Regions from separate parts of the Homo sapiens genome. Here all the other regions are linked to region 2. The links are contacts of gene promoters, found by promoter capture Hi-C in blood cells and fetal thymus (Javierre and others, 2016). All regions are on one chromosome and are shown on one strand. Each heading gives the region's core, a stretch centred on a gene start or on the middle of the fragment in contact. The rest is flanking DNA. Distances are from core to core; before and after follow the strand shown.

Region 1 (2,781 bases), core at 216-2,715, 1.7 Mb before region 2:
TATACTAGTGGATAATCACACGTTTGCTGGATCTAGGGAAACTGGCTTTATTGTCCTTTCTCACAGCTGTAACAAGTCTTTGGTCATTTCTAGGGATGCTGACGTGAATTTCAGCAGGACTTCCTCTGTCAGAGCCACTATTAGATTTCTTGATATCTTCATAAATGCCGTCCCTTCCACACTCCCCTTCCTTCCCAACCCCAGTGTAGTCACCTCACAGGCCATGCCCACAACATGTGCTGGAAATGTGTAATGCAAGAATAGACACATGAGAAAACAGACGAGAAATAATGATGAGTGATGAGCATTTGTTGTCAGAATCCCAACATTTGTTGGACCTGTTTGTTCTTCATAAGTTTCGTGATAGGGTAATGCTCAAGAGAAGAGAAATGGCAGAATTCTTTTCAAACGATAGGGGTGATATAAGGCTGATTTAGAAAACTACCTCTCTCTCTTTTTGCCCGTGCATGGTGGCTCACATCTACAATCCCAGCACTTTGGGAGGCTGAGGCGGGTGGATCACCTGAGGTCAGGAGTTCAAGACCAGCCTGGCCAACATGGCGAGACCCCCGTCTCTAATAAAAAATACACAAATTAGCCAGGTGTGGTGGTGTGCACCTGTAGTCAAAGCTACTCAGGAGGCTGAGGCAGGAGAATTGCTTGAACCTGGGAGGCGGAGGTTGCAGTGAGCTGAGATCCCACCACTGCACTCCAGCCTGGGCAACAGAGAGCGAGATTCTGTCTCAAAAAAAAAAAAAAAAAAAAAAAAAAAAGGAAAAGAAAATTACCTCTCTCTTTTTAACTGTTGGTCTCTGTCTTGCCTAGTGCCATGCTGGGACCTAGCTGACCCTCCAGGCATGTAATGAAATGGAATCTATGTCACATATACCTGAAATCTCTGTATTGATTTGTAAAATTTGAAGCTTACTAATTTGCTTGGAACTCAGTGTCTGGATGAATTTTTGAATACTCTTATGTGTAAATCAGGGGGGAAATGAGTTCCTTTGCTTGGATGATTAATAATAACTCCCATTCATTAGTGCTTACTATGTGCCAGGAACTGGATTCAGCCCTTCACGTACACTGTCCCATTTTATCCTCCCAAATTTCTTTCTGTTTTTAAGAACAGGACAACAGAGGCACAGAGAGCCTAAGTAATGGGCCCAAGTCACACAATTCCTAAGAGGGAGCAGGTCACGTTGAATCAGACCACTAGATTCCAGAGTCCAGAATTGAAACCCTTTCCTCTTGTTCACTGCAAGGTATCAACTGAGCAGGACGCATGCATCAACCTGCCAACCATTAGAATGTGACTGAAAGTATGAAGGTAAAATATGGCCATTTCATTAAAAACAAATTGCCATTTATATTTCATAAGAAAATCTTGGGGAAAAAAATAGAAAGTTCGGAGATTCAATGTAAGGAAGTTACTCGCAAGTGACTTTAAAAATCTGGTGATGATTATAATCAGTGTTCTGTTTAGCACACAGGTATGATTCTGCATGTTCTCTTTAGCCACAGGTATGATTGGCAGGATATTCTCAGTTTGGCTTATACAAGCCCATGAATCAAATATCAATAGGATTTTTAACTTTCTGAGGAGCTAAAGCTCTTACAATAATAAGTTTAAAACAAATGTGGGTCTGTTCTGGAGCAGCAAATCTTTTCTTTTTTATTATTTAATGTTCAAAATTTAAATATATATATATATATCTCCAATAAATGAAACCTGATGACTGATTTTCATTCAACAAAGATTGATTAAAAACTAAATTCCATTTTTCTAACCAATTCAAATTATAATTTCCAATCTAGTATGAATCCTTCCTTTGAACACGTTGAACACTGTAAACAGTAGACAAAATGACATTTAAACCATCACTACAAAACCTCTTACTACATTCATACTTGAGTCTACTCTCAAATATCACCACCATTGGTTTAATTCAAGTCTTTATTATCTCTATACTTGGTTTTATGCTGTCCTAAGGTTATAGATACAGTGTCCTAAGCTTGTAGTAATATTCTATTAATACTGTCTTAGTTTTAATATCAAAGGATAATGAATACCTTCTTAGAACATCTGTGGTTACAGAGTATGGAGAATACACCAATTGAATCTTAAGGCACAGACTATTTACTTCTCTCAAGATAATTTATTCATTTATTTGTTTAGAATAGCATTTTTTCATTTTTATAAAAGTTTAAGATTCAATTTTATGAATATATACAGTTTATATTTATTTTTTATTTTGGTTTTAAGTGATGCATAATAATTGAACACATGTATGAGGGATAGTGTGATGTTTCAATACACATATACATTGTGTAATTATCAAATCATGGTATTCAGCATGTCCATCAATTCAAACATTTATCATTTATTTGTGGTGAGACCATTAAGAATCCTCTCTTCTAGTTACTTTTAACACACTATAATATTTATAAACCAGAATATTGTTTACTGTGGGTGCCCTACTGTGTTATAGAACATCAGAACTTATTCCTCTTACCTAACTGTAATTGTATACCCTTTGACAAATATCTCCCCATAATTTCCTCCCTGCTACCGTCCCCAGCCTCTGGTAACCACTATTCTACCCTGTACTTGTGCGAGATCAGCATTTTTACACTCCACAAATGAGTGACATCATGCAATATTTATCTTTCTGTGCCTGGCTTATTTCCATGAACATAAAGTCCTTCAGGCTCATCCATGATGCCACAAATGACAGGATTGTGTTCATTTCTATTGCTAAGTACCATCCCATTGTTTATATA
Region 2 (2,700 bases), core at 60-2,559:
AAGTTGCTTAGAGGCAGCATGGTAAAATGGAATAGACAACAGGCTTTGCAATCAAAGATAATCAACATTTACTGAGGACTTTAGCAAATAAAATTAACATTTTTTGAGGACTTACATGCCAAAACAATGCTAGTTGTATTCACTTACGTTTAATATCCTAAAACAACCTGGCAAGATATTTTTAACCATTCTCAATTTTTCACAGAAGAGAAAAATCTAGGTTAAGCCACGTAATTTACAAAGCACTAGAATGCAAATCATGTGCCTGAGATTCAAAAGCTGTACCTTTGTTCATTACACCTGAACTCTTTCCCTCCAGATTTCAATAGTTACTTGATAGCTGTGTCAACTTGGATCAGTTACACAATTCCTTGAGCAGTTTTCTGCTCAAGTCTATTAAAAGAGGAAAAACCTCTAAGAAAAAAAAGATTGTGAAGATTAAAGATGCAAATCTCCTAGCACAACTGCTGGCATTTAAGAGGCACTCAACAAATTACAGAAACCTTTTCACCTGAGTGCCAGAGCCAGCGCTCTTTTAAAATTCGATTCGAGTTCTTGAAGACAGGGACCTTTTCTTGTTCATCCTTGTAACCCTTTGTGCCATGCCTGACAGGCACATGCCTTTTTTCCCTTCTTTTCCACTCCTAAATGTTAAAACATATACCTTATTCACTTCGTATCTCAGTAAGCTTTAATACCTGTAGAAACATATTGGTATTTTTACACTTGATAGACAAGTAGTAAGGAACGACGGCTGTCAAGATTTCCCTTTATACTTATTTCTATTTCTCTCGAGTGTGCGAATATTTGAGTTTTTGCAAAATATCAACTAACATCTTTACTTGACCTACCTCCTTATTCATAAAGCCTTCCTTAAGATAGTTTTCAACCTCAGGTCTCAAAGATATCTTAGGGAAAATAGACATTTTTCCTGTTGTTTAGTTCTCCACCAAGAGAAATGCTGGAAAACGGTGTTTTGTTTTTTTTTTTCTTTCCGAATTAATAGTGACGAGTGTCTTGACACCAGATGCTGAGGAAAATCTTGCCGATCACGCTGAGTTAATTTCGGAAATGCAGAGGTACACGCTTTCTCAAGCCTAGCCGATTAGAAGGGGCTGCCGGGCTTCCACCACACCTCATCGAGGCAATGTTTTCTGGTAGAGATGCTCATGGAAATCACTGAGCCAATGCCACTCACGTTGCAAAGAACCAAAAAAAGAAAAAAATGCTTAGTAACTGAATCCGTGGTGAAACGGACGCAGATCAGTAAGCCAGGCTGACAGCAGCTCGGTCCCTTTATCTTTTCTATCAATTTCCAAACACGCGCCCCCTATTTCTCGGCGGAAAGTCGCTTCCGGCTTACGTCACGTCCGGCGCCTGCGGCCCACCCCTCCCTTTCCGGTCCCCCAATCCACAGCCGCAAGTTTCCCCAACACTGCGTTACGCTACGCCACGCCCCCGGAGGTTCCTAACCCTGCGTGAGGCTCTTTCACCTGCCTCAGGTTAAGTAGGCAGACCCCGCGGGCGGGATGGTCAAAGATATTTAGTTCCCGGTACCGGAGGGCTAGGTGCCAGGGGCAATGGGGAAACAGCCAAATGGCGTGGGTTGAGTGGAAGATGTTGCTGGACTGAAAAAAGGCACAGCCCAGTTGCTGTCCTGCCAGATGTCCTCCAGTTAGAGGATGAGGCCAGAATTTGGGCGCATCAGCCACCGTTTGATTTCATGACATGATTTTACCTCTCTCAGGCATACAGATCTGACTTCAGTTGTGAAGTTCATAGGGTTCATATTTTTGAAAGTTGGGCTAATGGTCTGTTAATATCCAATGCTCAGGTAAAACTTAAAACCCACAGACAGTGTTTACAGTTAGTTATAAGGCTAACTGCTACTTGTATCATAGTTGACATATTCTTTAGAGTTTGGAAGACCCTCGCCATTATTTTTTTTTCTTTTTTTTCATCATAAGCAGACAAGGATATAGATTCAAAGAACGAGGATATCTAACCAAACTCACTGAGTCATTTTATAACTGTACAGGAAAGTCAAAATAATTCTATCACCTTGACATATGTTTTTTGCAGCACACCATGGTAATTTACACATAAGTATAGGAAAGGGTTTTTTATTGTTTTTTTCTCTTTAATTTTCACACCGAATTATACACACAGACACACACACATAGAACAGGTACTTTCCATGACACACCAACTCTTTACCAGAAAGAGTAGAAAATAATGAATGACCATTATACCACACAACAACCTGCAAGTTGTTTATCATTTTCTCTGCTCTTTTTTTTTTTTTTTTTTTGAGTCTCTGTCGCCCAGACTGGAGTGGAATGGTGGGATCTCGACTCACTGCAACCTCCACCTCCTGGTTCAAGAGATTCTCCTGCCTTGGCCTCCCGAGTAGCTAAAATTACAGGCATGTGCCACCAGGCCCAGCTAATCTTTGTAATTTTAATAGAGACGGGGTTTCACCATGCTGGCCAGGCTGGTCTCAAACTCCTGACTTCAACTGATCTGACTCTCTAGCCTCCCAAAGTGCTGGGATTACAGGCGTGAGCCACCACGCCCAGCCCATTTTCTCTGTTTTAAAGAGTAAATCAAGGTTCCTAGGGTTGAAACAACTCTCCATGTTCTCACAAATAAAAAGCCAGGATAAAGACTAGTAATTTGGCTTCTAGAGCCAATACCTTG
Region 3 (2,863 bases), core at 47-2,546, 1.9 Mb before region 2:
TGAACAGGGGCGTGGAACTCAGCCTGAGAAAGTGTGATGTCTCTTATCAGTCAGGTTTACTTCCCATCCCATCTGCTTCCTCCAGGGGTGCCCCAGGAGGCTGGGAGACCAACCTGCTTCCTGCAGTCAGACCTAAACTCAGACCCGGGAGCACCTGTGATTAGAACCACCACAAAGGTGTGTGTAAAATGCCAAACATACATCTAAAATATTTAAGCAGCTAGCCATTTCAAGACGACCAATTGATAACTCCCAGGGGAACAAAAGTAAAGGGACAGGCACGTTGCTTATTATAGTTTTGAGTCATCATTTTGAGCTTTCTGAAATGTCTAAGGTATCACTGGCCTTTTAGAGGTAAGGCTTGGTGAAAGGTAAAAGAGATGCTTTCACTGGAAGAAGGGACTGTGAAGAATACAGATTACTCTGAACTGGGGCACACGGGCAGGGAGCAGTGGTCTAGTGAGCGGCCCCTGCGCGAGCTCCGGAAGTGGCCGTTGATAAAAGAACAAGTTTTCATCGGGTAATCTAGACAGCTCAAAGTTCCTCCAGAACCCTCCCTCTGGGATACCTGCAGGAATGCAAATGAACCCTACCTGTACAGTGTGGCTGCAAATGTACATTCTTTCTTAGGTGCACAGTCCATGGAACACTTCTGTGTAAATGAATGGTATTCACTGTGTGTAAGGGATTACCAAGAAAATCACCAGGGCCGGGAGCGGTGGCTCACACCTGTAACCCAGCACTTTAGGAGGCCGAGGTGGGTGGACTATCTGAGGTCAGGAGTTCAAGACTAGCCTGACCAACACGGTGCAACTCTGACTCTACTAAAAATACAAAAATTAGCTGGGCATGGTGGCAGACGCCTGTAATCCCAGCTACTCGGGAAGCTGAGGCAGGAGAATCGCTTGAACCTGGGAGGCAGAGGTTGCAGTAAGCCAAGATCATGCCATTACACTCCAGCCTAGGTGACAAGAGTACAACTCTATCTCGAGAAGAGAAAAGATTGGCCTGGTGTGGTAGCTCACTCCTGTGATCCCAGCACTTTGGGAGGCTGAGGCAGGTGAATCACCTGAGGTCAGGAGTTTGAGACCAGCCTGGCCGACGTGGTGAAACCCCATCTCTACAAAAAATAAATAAATAAATAAATAATTAGCTGGGCATGGTGGCGCATGCCTGTAGTTCCAGCTACTCGGGAAGCTGAGGCAGGAGAATCGCTTCTGGGAAGCAGAGGTTGCAGTGAGCCGAGATCAAGCCATTACACTCCAGCCCGGGTGACAAGAGTGAAACTCTATGTCCAAAAAAAAAAAAAAAGAAAAGAAAATCACCAGGCTGTGCCTTCTGGGTCACTGGATGTCATCTTCTCCCCCCAGATCATAAAGTATATACATTACAGCTGCCCACAGACCTCATCCCTCCCCTGTCCACCCTCCAGCTACCACTAAGCCTTCATCTGATTAGTTTGAAGAGCACATTCATCTGATTAGTTTGAAGAGCAATAAGGAAAGTTAGTGAAACCAGGAGAAAATGATGATCTCAATTTAGCCACAAACCAAGAATAATGCAGCCAGAATTACTGCCGTCTTCCCGAAGTTACTCTGCCAGTGCAATTAAATGCTGGTCTAAAGGTATCGCCTTTTTGACAGGATGAGAGATTATTTCACTCTCCTTGCTAAATCAGTCCAATTTAAAACCACAAATTATGCTAAATGTGATTTAGGGCTTTGTTTTGTGAACGCAAACAATAACCCCATATTCAATTTACAAAACCTCTCCCAGCCTTTTGGTGAGCATGTGAATTTTTCGTTTAAGACTCCATTCAAGCTAGACGAGGAAAAAAAAATAATACACAGCTAATAGTCTCCCTCAATATACGGAATTTTTTTTTAACCCCCAGCCATAGTGAAAATCTAAAGAAATTAACATGCAGACCCTTCTGGATGGGATGGTATTCACTCTTTGAACCAATATTTAGAGAATGCTGATTAGGTGCACAGTGCCATACTTTGCACACACAGCATCTCAATACCTGGGAGATAAAATAGGAGAGGCATGTTATTTAAAGAAAGTAAGTTACAAAAGACAGGGTATCAAAGTCAATCAACTGAAACAGGCCTAGTGCTTGGAAAATAAACTACTCCCAACCAAACTCTCTGAAAAAAATAACCAGTTAGCAATATGAATTGTGCTATGACTAAATCCTATACATACGTGGCGGGAACAATTTTAGGTATTCCAAAAAGGCCACTGCAATATTTTACCAGTCAAAATATTCTACTGGAATTTTCTAGATATCTACAGGATGCATGAGCAAGAAGCATTTTAAAAGCTAACAGTGCACATCAGTATATTTCTTACATCTTTGAAACGATCCTTTTTCATCAATCTGTCCAGCTTCTGATCTATGACCCCAGCTGACCTATGACACCAAAGGAACTAAAGAGCAACGTGGTCCCTGACCCTACAGTGCTGTGTGTGCCCTCACTCAACTCATAACCTCTCTGGGCCTCTGTAAAATAAGAAGGCTGGATTATGACCATTTCCAAGGTCTCTTCCACCTCATTTTAACATTCTAGGATTCTAAAAGGAGATGGATTATGAAAATCAATGATATGGCTTTAAATAATTCAACAAATGGGGCTCTCAATTAGGAAGCTTAGTCATGTAGAACTTCGCTTCTGACAGAGAATTGAGTATCATTTTCTGCCTAGCCAAAGATGGCTGCTTTAATTTTGAGACTTCAGTTGCTAGGTTTGCGGGAACAGTCCCAGAGGACTCAGATATCCCCTGGCTCCTCAATGTCCCATTTCGCTCTAGCCACAGGATCACAGGACTGCTGGGGACGCTCTCATCCCAGAGCCTCTGC
Region 4 (2,922 bases), core at 193-2,692, 1.6 Mb after region 2:
ATTACCAAGGAGAGAAAGGGGAGGAGTGAGGGGAGCTTGTGGGGAGGGGTGAAGTGTGGGTTCTTGGAGAGTCAGGTAAATGGCTAGGGAATAGTAGGGCCAGGATTGGAATCTGTAGAGGAGTTCTCTTAAATGCTTGCTATTTTTCTAGGATGTACGAAACCATTGTTCCTCTTTGTAATTCAAACAGCAAGACCAGTGGTATTGTGGAGGGTGGAAGACTGCAGCAAATTGATGTGCTGTAATAAATGAGAAATTGTATAACATTAGTTGGCATAGAGAGATGGTATAATGTTAACTCTGAGGGAAACATGATAGAGACAAGGATGCAGTGAAGTCGTGTAAGCAATTGGATACCAGAAACAATTTTAACCCGTTTAAAAGCTTTGCAGTGACTCGCATTTATACTATCATTTCAAGATCATATAAAGATATCCTATAAAGTTTATGAAGAAAAGCATTTACTTCTTCTCCCTTCATTAAGTTTTGGGGTATCAATTTTGAATTAAAACTGCTAACAATTACAAAAGTTTAGCAAAGCAAGCCATGCCAAAATGCTGTTTTAAAAACTATTTGTTCAATGGTTACTTAGAGACTTTTTAAAAATTCATTTTTGGGGGGCATGTTTCATAAAGATCTTGAGCAATACATTTTTAAAAACATTCTTGAACTTTAAATGCAGTATTGCCAGTGTAGCTATAACCAACCTTTTGGCATTTCATTTAGGGAATGACAGCAGTGTGTGCTCATCCGTCTCACCTCACTTATCTAATAACGTAGTTCCAAAGAGTATCTATTGACAAAGCCATAGTTGTGTTTTGAGACAATCATTTCTTTCATATAATCAGTTACCTCAATATAAAATGTTGAAAATGAATATCTCCATATATGTAAAGATTGAGAATGTAATTCAGATGTATATTTTTTCTCCCAAATTTGGTTTATCTTTTCATTTTCTCTATGATTTTATTTCACTAACATTAATTATCAATTTAATCTGTCAAATGTATGAATCTTTTATTTTTATGATGAGTTTTATATGCCTGTGCATCTTCTTTTAGAAGAATTTTCCTACCAAATTCCATCTAGGTGTTATTTTTGTGTATTTTTTTCTGAATATTTTAAAGCTTTGTCTTACACGTCAAAATCTATTCCATTTGGAATTGGTTTTTATGTATTATATAAGGTAGAGATTCAGTTTCGTGGGGTTTTTTTTCTTGATGGATAGCCAAATTTCAAGCACCATTTGTTAACTAATCCTTTCTTTTGGCAATATCTTGCAAAGTCACCTGTTTTATGTATATTTTCTGGGCTCTCCTCTTCTAAAGCTCTGTCAGTACTTAGATCAGTGTCCCACTGTATTAATTTCTATTGTTTTATAAGAAATCTTACTATATACAGGACAAATCTCCTTACTTTTTCTTCTTCACAAGTGTTTGGGTATTTTAGGGCTTTTGTCCTTCATATAAATATTAAACTCACCTTGTCGAGATCTGTAATCCATCTATCAATACATCTTACTAACATTTTATTGGAAATACATTAAATTATGAATTAGATCACATTTCCTAATTACAGAGGCTTTTAAAATTTACCTTTTTTACTATTGACTTCTAGACTAATTGAGTCATCATCAGAGAACATGTTATGATCTTTAAAGTTGATTGGAAATTTTTCATGAACAAGTACATGGGCATTTTGTACAAAGGGTCTATGTGTGTTCAAGAAAAATGTGTGTTTTCCTGTTGGTTGGGTGTCAAGCTTGATAAATGTACTCTTCAGCTATACTTCTCCACTCTCTTTATTTTCACCTTCTGACTTCTTTGAAAGCTTGCCATTTTCATCTTTTCCTCATATTTTTAAACCTCTATTATATGTAATCTCTTTCCTTATTACTCTGTGCTGTATTTGGAGCAATTTCTTCAGATGTATTTACCGGTTTATTAACTCTCCCTTCATCTTGTTTAATATTCTATGTAATCTACTCACTGAAGTAGAAATTCCAACAAACATTTTTCATATCTAAAATTAAATTTGACACTTATTACATCTGCCAAGTATTTTATAGTTTCATGTGAACCGTTCATTTCTCAATTTTATCTTTTATGATTTTAAATATTCCGTGTATGATTTTTGTATATTCCATATTGGATGATCCCATTATCTAAAATTTTGGTGATCTAAATAGTGTGGTCATTGTTTTTGCTGATTCTTTCTCAGACAGCTATTTTTTTTTCTTTTTTAGTGTATATTTGTCTGATCCTATTCTAAGACCTAAATAGGTGATGTTTTCCCCCAAAGAAGATTTGATGATGGGATCCTCAGGATTTTCAGGCTACCATAAGTCTCTGCCCTAATGTGAGGAGGAGAAGTTCAGATTTTTCTCCCCTGTCTACTACTGCTGCAAGGCTTGTTCTCTTTAGAGCGATATTGATTTTGGATTTTTTTCCTCAGGGCAAATTCTGCTTTTTTAACTTCCCTTAATGTATACAGCTCCTACTGTCTTTATAGCACATAGCTTTTGCTTTGTTTTATTTTTTGAGTGGGGAGGGGAATAAACAATGGAAAGGCACCATTGGGATATTCTTTACCTCCTGCAAATCCTAAGGCTTTAAAATTCAAGTTTTATTCAGAATCTACTTGTTTTGTTATAGGAGGGCTATTTAGTTCCTTAGTCTGCCGTTACTGCCAAAAGCAATCTGAGCCTAGGATTTTACCTTAAACGTAGGGTGTTTACTGAACATTATTAGATCCTGTTTACGGAATACTAGGTCCTGTTCATTGACAGTAGAAACACAAAGAGAGAATAATATATGGCAAGTTCCATTCTATACTCCTTGAGTTTGAGATGTGTGTGACATTCACATGCAGACACCTGGTCAATAGATGACTTTTTGGGCCTGAAATCCAAAAGAGGAATGT
Region 5 (2,700 bases), core at 87-2,586, 1.6 Mb before region 2:
GGAGCTAAGTGCTGAGAACACATGGACACAGGACAGGGAAACAGCAGGCACTGGGGCCTACCTGAGGGTGGAGGGTGGGAGGAGGGAGAGGATCCAAAAAAATAATGAGAACTAGGCTTAATACCTAGGTGATGAAATGATCTGTGCAACAAACACCCATGACACAAGTTTACCTACATAATAAATAAGTTCAGGGTATGTGTACTACTATCAGGGTAGTGCACATACCCTGAACTTGAAAGTTAAATTAAAAAAAAAAAGTTTTAGCATTCCAGCGGAATCTATGCCCCTGCTCACAAGTTCTGCTTCTGCCCAGAACATAATCTGTGAACATCACCGGCTAGAGGGCTTGGCTACACTGCCCTAATGAGTATCGTCCATAGGCAGGCTAGACCCATGCATTTGCTGTCGAGCTCAAACACATGAGCTCCCTGTGCTGGGGATTTGTCACCAAGGGAAAGTCTGGTTGTATGCAAGCACTTGAGGTAAATGATCCTGTAGGGTCAAGGCTGGGGTGGTCATGTTGTTGAAGCTAAAATTCCGAGGTTGCTGAAACTCAGAGGAAGCCTTTGGGGAGAGGGATGGGAATGGATGGGAACAGTCAGGGAGCAGGAGCAGAGCCTTAGGAAGTGGGAGTGGAGAATCTGCCTCACTCTCTTGGCTTCCCACCTTCTCCAGGCTTCTCAGCCTCTCCTGTGTGTGGGGAGGTGTGAGCCTTCTCAAAGTAACCAGCCTGTCACATGCGCCTGTCCTCTTCATGTGGCTCAGATTGTGTTTCGGTGCCACCACCAAGAGTGCGAGCCCAGACAAGGAGAACCAGCAGGGCTGCCAGGGGGCTGAAGGGAAAACGTTCCAGCTTCCAAGATGGGGAAAGATTCATTCTAGAATCTCGTAGATCAGTAAGATTAACAGTAATTTTTGGAAAAATTCTAAATTAGACACTAAAAATAATTTGTCAACATGAAGCAAAGAAAGAGGTGATTATAATAAATGGCACCTGCTTATCTATGGAGTCATGCAAAACATTGATTTCTCTTTGCGGCAGTGTCAATAGAATGGTAGACTTGGGGGCAGCAGGAACACTTCCCCATGATCCCTGTGAGGGTGACAGGACACTGTGAGAGTGCTCCCGGGGTATGTGGTGTTATGGCTGAGAGCATCGGTGTGGAGTTACAGTGCCTGCTAGAAAGCCGGCCTTGACACTTATAATCTTTCTGAATATGAACAACCTATATCTGCCTCACTTTTCTCACCTAACGAATGGGGATAATATTTCTTATAATACAGGGTTGCTGTGAGAATTACCTGGCAAATAATACATGCTGAATAAATATTAGCTTTTATTACCTAGTAGTTTGAATAGTGCTATTCCAAAAGCACTTAATAATAGATCAATTTTAACCAAAAGAACTTATCATTTAAGAGTATTTGAAATAGATGCAATCTTGTTTGACATTTTTATCAATTATTTTTGAAGAAGTACTAGGTCAGTGGCCAATGAGTCTGTATGCAAATGAATAATGCTCTGAAAAGCAATGAATGAAGATTTAGGGAGGTCATGATGTGTTGGGATTCTCAGACAAAATCAAATCTGATTTATTAGGAAAAATATCTCTGTTTAGATTCTTAAAAATCATATAATCATAAATTCATAATAATTCATGTAAAAGTGATATGGAGATTATAAATCTTGATATAGGCCAATATCATGACTTAGCTACAATAAACCCCATTTAACTTCAGCATAGACCACCAGAAATATATGAACTGGATAATACGGTTCCAACCTACTTGGGCCTAGCCAGGTTTAGTTGAACTGTTGCATCCAATTCTGGGGCCACATTTAAAGAGGCACTGACATACAAGAGAACATGCAAAGGAGTGTGTCCCACACACGTGAACTAGATGAGGACCAGTTAGGGAAATGAAGGATAAGGATTGGAGAAAAGAAGCCATCACTTACTCTGGTTTGTTACAGAGAGCCTCAGAATTCAGGGACCTAGACTTCAGTCTACACTCACTCTCCTCTTTGTACCTCTTTACACTGTCTGGTTCCTGCTCTCGCCCCACAAACACTGCTCTGACCAGAGTCACATTGATCTCCAAGGGACCCTTCTGAACCACAACCTCTCTCGACTGCTCTTCCCTTGGCTCCCATGACACAGTCACCTTTTTTTTTTTTTTTAGACAGGGTCTCACTTCGTCACCCAGGCTGGAATGCAATGGTGCGATCCCAGCTCACTGCAAACTCCGCCTCCCGGGTTCTAGTGATTCTCCTGCCTCAGCCTCCTGAGTAGCTGAGATTATAGGCCTGAGCCACCGTGCCCAGCCACAATCACCTCTTAGTGTTCCTACTTCCTCTTCTCACTACACACATGCTCCCTGTTGACTTAACAAATACCCTGGGCTTCCTATACATCTCCATGTTGATTTCTCCCAAATCTATCATTTCCATTTCTATATTCAATCACTCGTTTGAAATCTCCTTTTCTGCATGGAGACTCAGACTCAAAATAAAAATGGAAGACTGAAATCAAGTTGTAAAATACAGCCAGAACTCTTCAGGTTGATTCCCCATGTTTGCACGGGCAAATGGTCTCACTCCTTTAAGCAAATGGTCCCTTCTCCCACTGTATATTTTATTTCCAGATCTGAAATATTTTGTTTTGCCCAGAGGGTGAAATAATAAAGGATGCATTT
Region 6 (2,924 bases), core at 351-2,850, 1.9 Mb before region 2:
AAACTTTAAAGAGCATACTACATACCTGGGAAATAATCAGACCAGAATGACCTACGCCCTACACCAAGTCATACTCCAGTAAAATTACAGGAAATAAAATTGTATCACCAGACTTTCAAACAATGCTTTATGCCAGAAGAAATAGAGTAACACATCGACAACACTCCAGAAAAGAAACTGTCGAGTCTCTATACCTGTAAAATTGACTTTCATGTAAAAAGAACACAAATTTTTATGTACTATCCACAGAAAAAACTCTGGGATTATTCTCTTGATGCCTTTCTGAGGAATATTCCAGAGTATAAGCTTCAGACAATCAAAATAACTAGAGATACATTGTCCTAAGGACTCCTAATGCGCATAAAAGATAGGGGTGCCTGTAGAACTAAGACTACGTGAGGGCTAAAGGAGAGACTGTATCATAGGAAATGGCTATATGTGCTGAAAATCTAGATACAGTTCAAATTCTAAAAAGCAGGGAGCCGTATTTCCAAAATTAATACCAGATTAGAGATGTATCGGGTTTCTGGTTAGCAAATAGAGATTCTGGACGTTGTCACTACCATACTCACAGTAAGAAGAAAGCTGAGCAAACAGAAAACAAACAACTCTTCCATAGATTCATTAGAAAACTCAGGTCACAGGGCAAACCACCATACCGAAATCTAGAGACAGGCAAACACAGAGAATCACAGCATAGTAGGAGCAGAAATACCTGCTGGAGCCAGCAACCGGTAGGAATGCCTCAAGGGTAACTGCCGAATTGCCAGAGACTGAGTGGTAAACTAATTTGAGAGATTAAAAACAACAACAACAACAACAAAAACAACAACAAGTTCCTGGGGGCCCGGTCTTAAGGGGTCTCCTGTACTTTGCTGAGTTTTACCTCTAAGAGCCCTACCAGGTTCTAAGGGTGAAAAAATTAGAAAAAAAAATCCCTCTGTGCTTCATGGAAGGGGAGAAGAGCAACCACTGTGAAAGAAGCCCAAAGCATTCTGCTCTCCTTAACAAACAGAGAAATGATTTAGCAGAGCCTAGGCTACCTGGGATTTACCAGAGCCTGACCAACAGGAACTGATGGAAATACCCAACTCCAGCCCGCTCACACCTTCCTGTCTCAATTTGGTAGCCGGGGGCGGGGAGGGGATGCGGGGAAGTTGAGAAACAGCTGTGAAGGTCACAGCCAAGTGGCACAGGCTCACTAGAGAGATCTAAGCACAGGATTACAGAACGTTTCCCTTTTCCCGATGCCTTCTCATCAGAAGGGGTCCTATAAAATAATACGGAATTACGGCAGAAGTTCAAGGCTCACACAGTATTTAAGGATTCAACAGGGAAAATCTAAGAGAAAAGGGGAGGAAAACACAAGGAAGACACAAGAGAAAATTTTACCCTCTGACACCCAAAGCTACAAAAATGTGAGAACTCGCACTAAAAGCCTATTTACCTCAGTTCCTTTTACCCAATGCATCATGTCTGGCTTACAACAAAATTACAAGGTACTCTAAAAAGAAGAAAGGCTGAGGAGAGAAATCAAGCAAAAGAAGCACACTCGGATATGGCAGATATTTTACAGTTATCTGACTGCGACTTTAAAATTAATATGATTGATATGCTAAGAGCTCTAATGGAAAAAGTAGACAACATGCAAGAAAAGATGGGTAATGTCAGCAGAGACAAAATCCCTGAGAGAATTGAAAGGAAATGCTAGAGTTCACAAACACTGTAACAAAAATAAAGAGCGCCTCTGACTGGCTCATTAGTAGAATGGATACAGTCAAGGAAAGAATCAGTGATCTTGAAGACATGTCAACAGAAACTTCCTAAACTGAAAAGCAAAGAGAAAGAAGAGTAGGAGAAAAGTAAGACAAAATATCTAAGAACAATGGGATAATTACAAAAGGCGTAACAGGCATGTTGGTTGATTATAGTTTACAGATAACTGAAATGAATGATACCGATTCTATAAAGAACAACAAGAAGGAACTGGAAATGTCTGATTTTAAGTTACCTGCACTGGCTCTGAAGTGGCACAGTGTTATTTAAAAGTGAGTTAAGATTAATTGTAAATGTATATTGCAAACTCTAGGGCTATCATTAAGAAGTTTTTATTCCTTGCTTTATCCTCCTTCTAAAAAATAAATTTTTAAATGTACATTTGCTGAGAAAAGAGAAAACGGAATATGTTGTGAGAAGAGAAAATGAAATCATATTAAATGCTCAATTAAAGCCACGGAAAGCAGAAAAAGAGCAGAAGACAAAAAAAAAAAGAACAAGGGCAAGAATAGAAAACACTTATTTTGTAGGTATTAATCTAAGTAATATCAATTATCACATTAGATGTTAATAACCAAACATATCAATTATAAGACTATCAGTGTGGATCTTTTTTTTAAAAAAAAAAACAGGATCTAACTATATGTTATCTATGAGAAATCCACTTTAAATATAAAATATAGATACAACTAAATTAAAAGTAACGGGATGGAGAAAGAGATATGACGCTAAACGCTAAACAAAAAAAGCTGCAGTAGTCATGTTAATTTCAGACAAAGCTGACTTCAAAGCAAGGAAGATTATCAGAAATAAAAAAGGGTATTACATGACGATTAAATGGTAAACTTTCCAAGAAAGACACAGCAATCCTTAATGTGAATGTATCTAACAACAGCGTCAAAATATGTTAGACAAAAACTTATAGAAATGCAAAGAGAAAGAAACAAATCCGCTATTATACTTGGAGACGTCAAGACTCCACTCTATCAGTAATTGACAGATCCAGCAGGCAGAAAATCAGTAAGGACAGAGTTAAAAACACAACACCACCATCTATCAGCTGGATATAATTGACATCTATAGACTACTCCATCTAACAGAAAAATGCACATTCTTCTGAAGCTTGCACAGAACATTCATAGACATAG
Region 7 (2,901 bases), core at 235-2,734, 1.6 Mb before region 2:
TTAGCAATAGTCAGGGCCCCACTGCAGACCAACTGAATCCTGTCTCTGGATATTGGAACCCAGGCATGGGCACTTTTTAAAACTCCCAGGCAATTCCAATGGTGCATCTAGGACTGAGAACACTCTCCAGGGCCCTGAGCCCAGGCTTCCTGGTTAACATTTCTTACCTTCTACACTTCTGTCCCTGGGGGAAAGTTCTCTCTGCTTTAGATCTTGCTATTATCCTACTGTCATTAAAACAAACAGTACAATGTGCCCTTTCAACATCTCAGAAGGATTCTCCAGTCTCTAGGGATACTGTCTTTCTACCATCTCATTTCTCCAGTCTCAACACTTGCTCTCACCTTGTTCCTCAGAGCGGTCCATAGAGCAGCACCAGCAGCATTACCCGGGAGCTTGTTAGAAATGCAGATTCACGGGCCTTGCCCCAGACCCCATCCTCTATCCAACAAGATCCCCAGGGTTCATGTGCACAGGAGCATCTGGGTAGCACGTATGCTCTGGAGAATGCCCCAGCCCTTGAAATTCTGGGCCATTTCCCAGGATTCTCCTGACCTTTCTGTCTCTTTTCACACTGTCTCTAGTTAGAATCATGTGTTTCAGAATCACGGAATACTACAGATCATCTGTATTATAGAGATGAATCAATCCAATCCCTGCATTTAACGGATCCATGAGTTGACTTAGGTTGAATCTACCCACTTGGGCCAGGTGCAGTGGCTCACACCTGTAATCCCATCACTTTGGGAGGCCAAGGCAGGAGGACTGCTTGAGCTCAGAAGTTCAAGATCAGACTGGGCAACATAGCAAGACCTCAACTCTACTAAAAAAAAAAAAATGCCAGGTGCAGTGGTACACACCTGTAGTCTCAGCTACTCAAGAGGCTGAAGTGAGAGAATCACTTAAGCCTCAGAGCTCAAGGCTCCAGTGAGCTATGACCAGGACACTGCACTCCAGTTTGGATGACAGAGCAAGATCCTATCTTGATAAATAAATAAATAAATATATAAATATCTACTCACTTGATGAAGAGGAAGGTCCAGAACTTCTACAAGCTTAGTTATCACAACTCATTTACTTTGGGAATTCCTAATGTACGTTTCAAGCTGCAAGTAGCTCTGTGGATGACCACTGACTATTTTTAAATACTGAAAGCCCCATACATATTTTAACAGACATACACTCAGAGCCCAGTTTATAATCTCAGAACGCCTAGCACTCCTAAGTGTATAATAGGGCTATTCAGTTATAAGTAGCTCTGACATTCCTATAATGAGTGCACCAGAATGTGAACAATGTTAAGAGTCAACCACTGCACACATTCATGTGTGCTCAGCTAGAGCTCAGCCCTGATTTTGACAGCAGGGCCACAGCTTAGATGTCTATGCTTGGTTCCTGGTATAATCTTGGAACTCCACTTCTCTTTCCAGTTGATTGAAATACACCAATGAGCTCTAGCATCATGGTTGAGAACTACTGCTATGAGACCCACAAGCACTACATGTTCCAGGGCTAGATCACTCTAAGACAGTAGTGTGTCTGGAATTTATTCCTTCTGGTGGGTTCTTGGTCTCGCTGATTTCAAGAATGAAGCCACGGACCCTCACAGTGAGTGTTACAGTTCTTAAAGATGGTGTGTCCAGAGTTTGTTCAGATGTTCAGATGTGTCCGCAGTTTCGTCCTTCCAGTGGGTTCGTGGTCTCGCTGACTTTAGGAGTGAAGCTGCAGACCTTCACCATGAGTGTTACGGCCCTTAAAGGTAGTGCGGAGTTATTTGTTCCTCCCGGTGGGTTCGTGGTCTTGCTGACTTCAGGAATGAAGCCGCAAACCTTCACAGTGAGTGTTACAGCTCATAAAGGTAGTGTGAACCCAGAGTGAGCAGCAGCAAGATTTATTGTGAAGAGTGAGAGAACAAAGCTTCCACAGCGTGGAAGGGGACCCGAGCAGGTTGCCGCTGCTAGCTCGGGTGGCCAGCTTTTATTCCCTTATTTGGCCCTGCCCACGTCCTGCTGATTGGTCCATTTTACAGAGCACTGATTGGTCCATTTTACAGAGCGCAGATTGGTCCATTTTTACAGAGTGCTGATCGGTGCGTTTACAAACCTTTAGTTAGACACAGAGCGCAGATTGGTGTGTTTTTACAAAGTGCTGATTGGTGCATTTACAAACCTTTAGCTAGACACAGAGCGCTGATTGGTGCATTTACAAACCTTTAGCTAGACAGAAAAGTTCTCCAAGTCCCCACCTGACCCAGAAGCTCAGCTGGCTTCACCTCTTAATCCCCCCTCTAAACAGGACACCCCAACTGCTGCTGGGAATTGGGTGATGACCACTCTAGCTACTTCCCGCTGGATAGGGGCAAAGAAGGGGCCCTGAAGTTGTAGTGTCCTCCAGAGGGGAACTCTTTAGGCTAATGAAAGGGCCAGTGGGTCGGTCCAGGGGTCCTTGATAGAAGTTGTTAGTTGAGCTCATTTGGGGTTCCATTTGTAAGACCATCTGTAGCCTGATGGCCTTGATTCTAGAGGAAACAAATTTGACAAGGAGGTTAAAAATACAGGGCCCGAAGGCAAGTAATAGCAAGATGGCTGCCATGGGACCTAGAAAGGGGAGAAGCCATATTGCCCAACTCCAGAGGTTGGTATAAGAGTTTGAAAGGCATTGTCTGATATCAGAAGCTTTTTCCTGTAAATGCTGCGTGGCATCTCGTACTATCCCTGACTGGTTAGTGTAAAAGCAACACTCTTTCCCAAAGAAGGTGCAAAGTCCTCCTTTCTCAGCAGTGAGGAGGGTCTAGGCCTCAGCAGTTTTGGAGAGTCACTGCTGCCGAAGAGTCTATTTGGGATTGTAGTTACTATCCTTACTGGACAGATTTTGTTATTTCTTGCAAACTGTCTGAGAAAT

What was found. The method cuts DNA at HindIII sites, captures the fragments that hold promoters and counts their contacts. A CHiCAGO score of 5 or more calls a contact.
Region 1: a fragment that was not itself captured here is called in contact with the fragment with the promoter of NSUN6 in region 2 in 1 of 17 cell types (activated CD4 T cells); the score reaches 5.4 in activated CD4 T cells.
Region 3: a fragment that was not itself captured here is called in contact with the fragment with the promoter of NSUN6 in region 2 in 1 of 17 cell types (activated CD4 T cells); the score reaches 6.2 in activated CD4 T cells.
Region 4: a fragment that was not itself captured here is called in contact with the fragment with the promoter of NSUN6 in region 2 in 1 of 17 cell types (M0 macrophages); the score reaches 5.5 in M0 macrophages.
Region 5: a fragment that was not itself captured here is called in contact with the fragment with the promoter of NSUN6 in region 2 in 1 of 17 cell types (non-activated CD4 T cells); the score reaches 10.9 in non-activated CD4 T cells.
Region 6: a fragment that was not itself captured here is called in contact with the fragment with the promoter of NSUN6 in region 2 in 3 of 17 cell types (activated CD4 T cells, total CD8 T cells and non-activated CD4 T cells); the score reaches 5.7 in activated CD4 T cells.
Region 7: a contact is called between a fragment that was not itself captured here and the fragment with the promoter of NSUN6 in region 2, in 1 of 17 cell types (non-activated CD4 T cells). The highest score is 9.2, in non-activated CD4 T cells.

The regions. Positions count from the first base shown.
Region 1 is chr10:16,954,630-16,957,410 of GRCh38, forward strand. All of the region lies in intron 31 of CUBN (cubilin), which reads right to left. Among named protein-coding and RNA genes, the nearest start is that of RSU1, 140 kb to the left of the region's middle. The HindIII fragment of the contact is 1,089 bases long and covers 922-2,010 here.
Region 2 is chr10:18,650,278-18,652,977 of GRCh38, forward strand. It overlaps NSUN6 (NOP2/Sun RNA methyltransferase 6), which reads right to left and starts at 1,310. Exons shown (of 11, transcript NM_182543.5): 1 at 852-1,310. The coding sequence starts at 926. RefSeq lists an enhancer at 1,450-1,549. The HindIII fragment of the contact is 3,002 bases long and covers 688-2,700 here.
Region 3 is chr10:16,765,727-16,768,589 of GRCh38, forward strand. The region is part of intron 3 of RSU1 (Ras suppressor protein 1); the gene reads right to left. Among named protein-coding and RNA genes, the nearest start is that of RSU1, 50 kb to the right of the region's middle. The HindIII fragment of the contact is 2,708 bases long and covers 1-2,650 here.
Region 4 is chr10:20,212,057-20,214,978 of GRCh38, forward strand. The region is part of intron 10 of PLXDC2 (plexin domain containing 2); the gene reads left to right. Among named protein-coding and RNA genes, the nearest start is that of MIR4675, 340 kb to the right of the region's middle. The HindIII fragment of the contact is 634 bases long and covers 1,126-1,759 here.
Region 5 is chr10:17,035,773-17,038,472 of GRCh38, forward strand. The region is part of intron 27 of CUBN (cubilin); the gene reads right to left. Among named protein-coding and RNA genes, the nearest start is that of CUBN, 93 kb to the right of the region's middle. The HindIII fragment of the contact is 5,094 bases long and covers 1-2,700 here.
Region 6 is chr10:16,798,704-16,801,627 of GRCh38, forward strand. The region is part of intron 2 of RSU1 (Ras suppressor protein 1); the gene reads right to left. Among named protein-coding and RNA genes, the nearest start is that of RSU1, 17 kb to the right of the region's middle. The HindIII fragment of the contact is 2,592 bases long and covers 305-2,896 here.
Region 7 is chr10:17,009,654-17,012,554 of GRCh38, forward strand. The region is part of intron 28 of CUBN (cubilin); the gene reads right to left. Among named protein-coding and RNA genes, the nearest start is that of CUBN, 120 kb to the right of the region's middle. The HindIII fragment of the contact is 862 bases long and covers 1,054-1,915 here.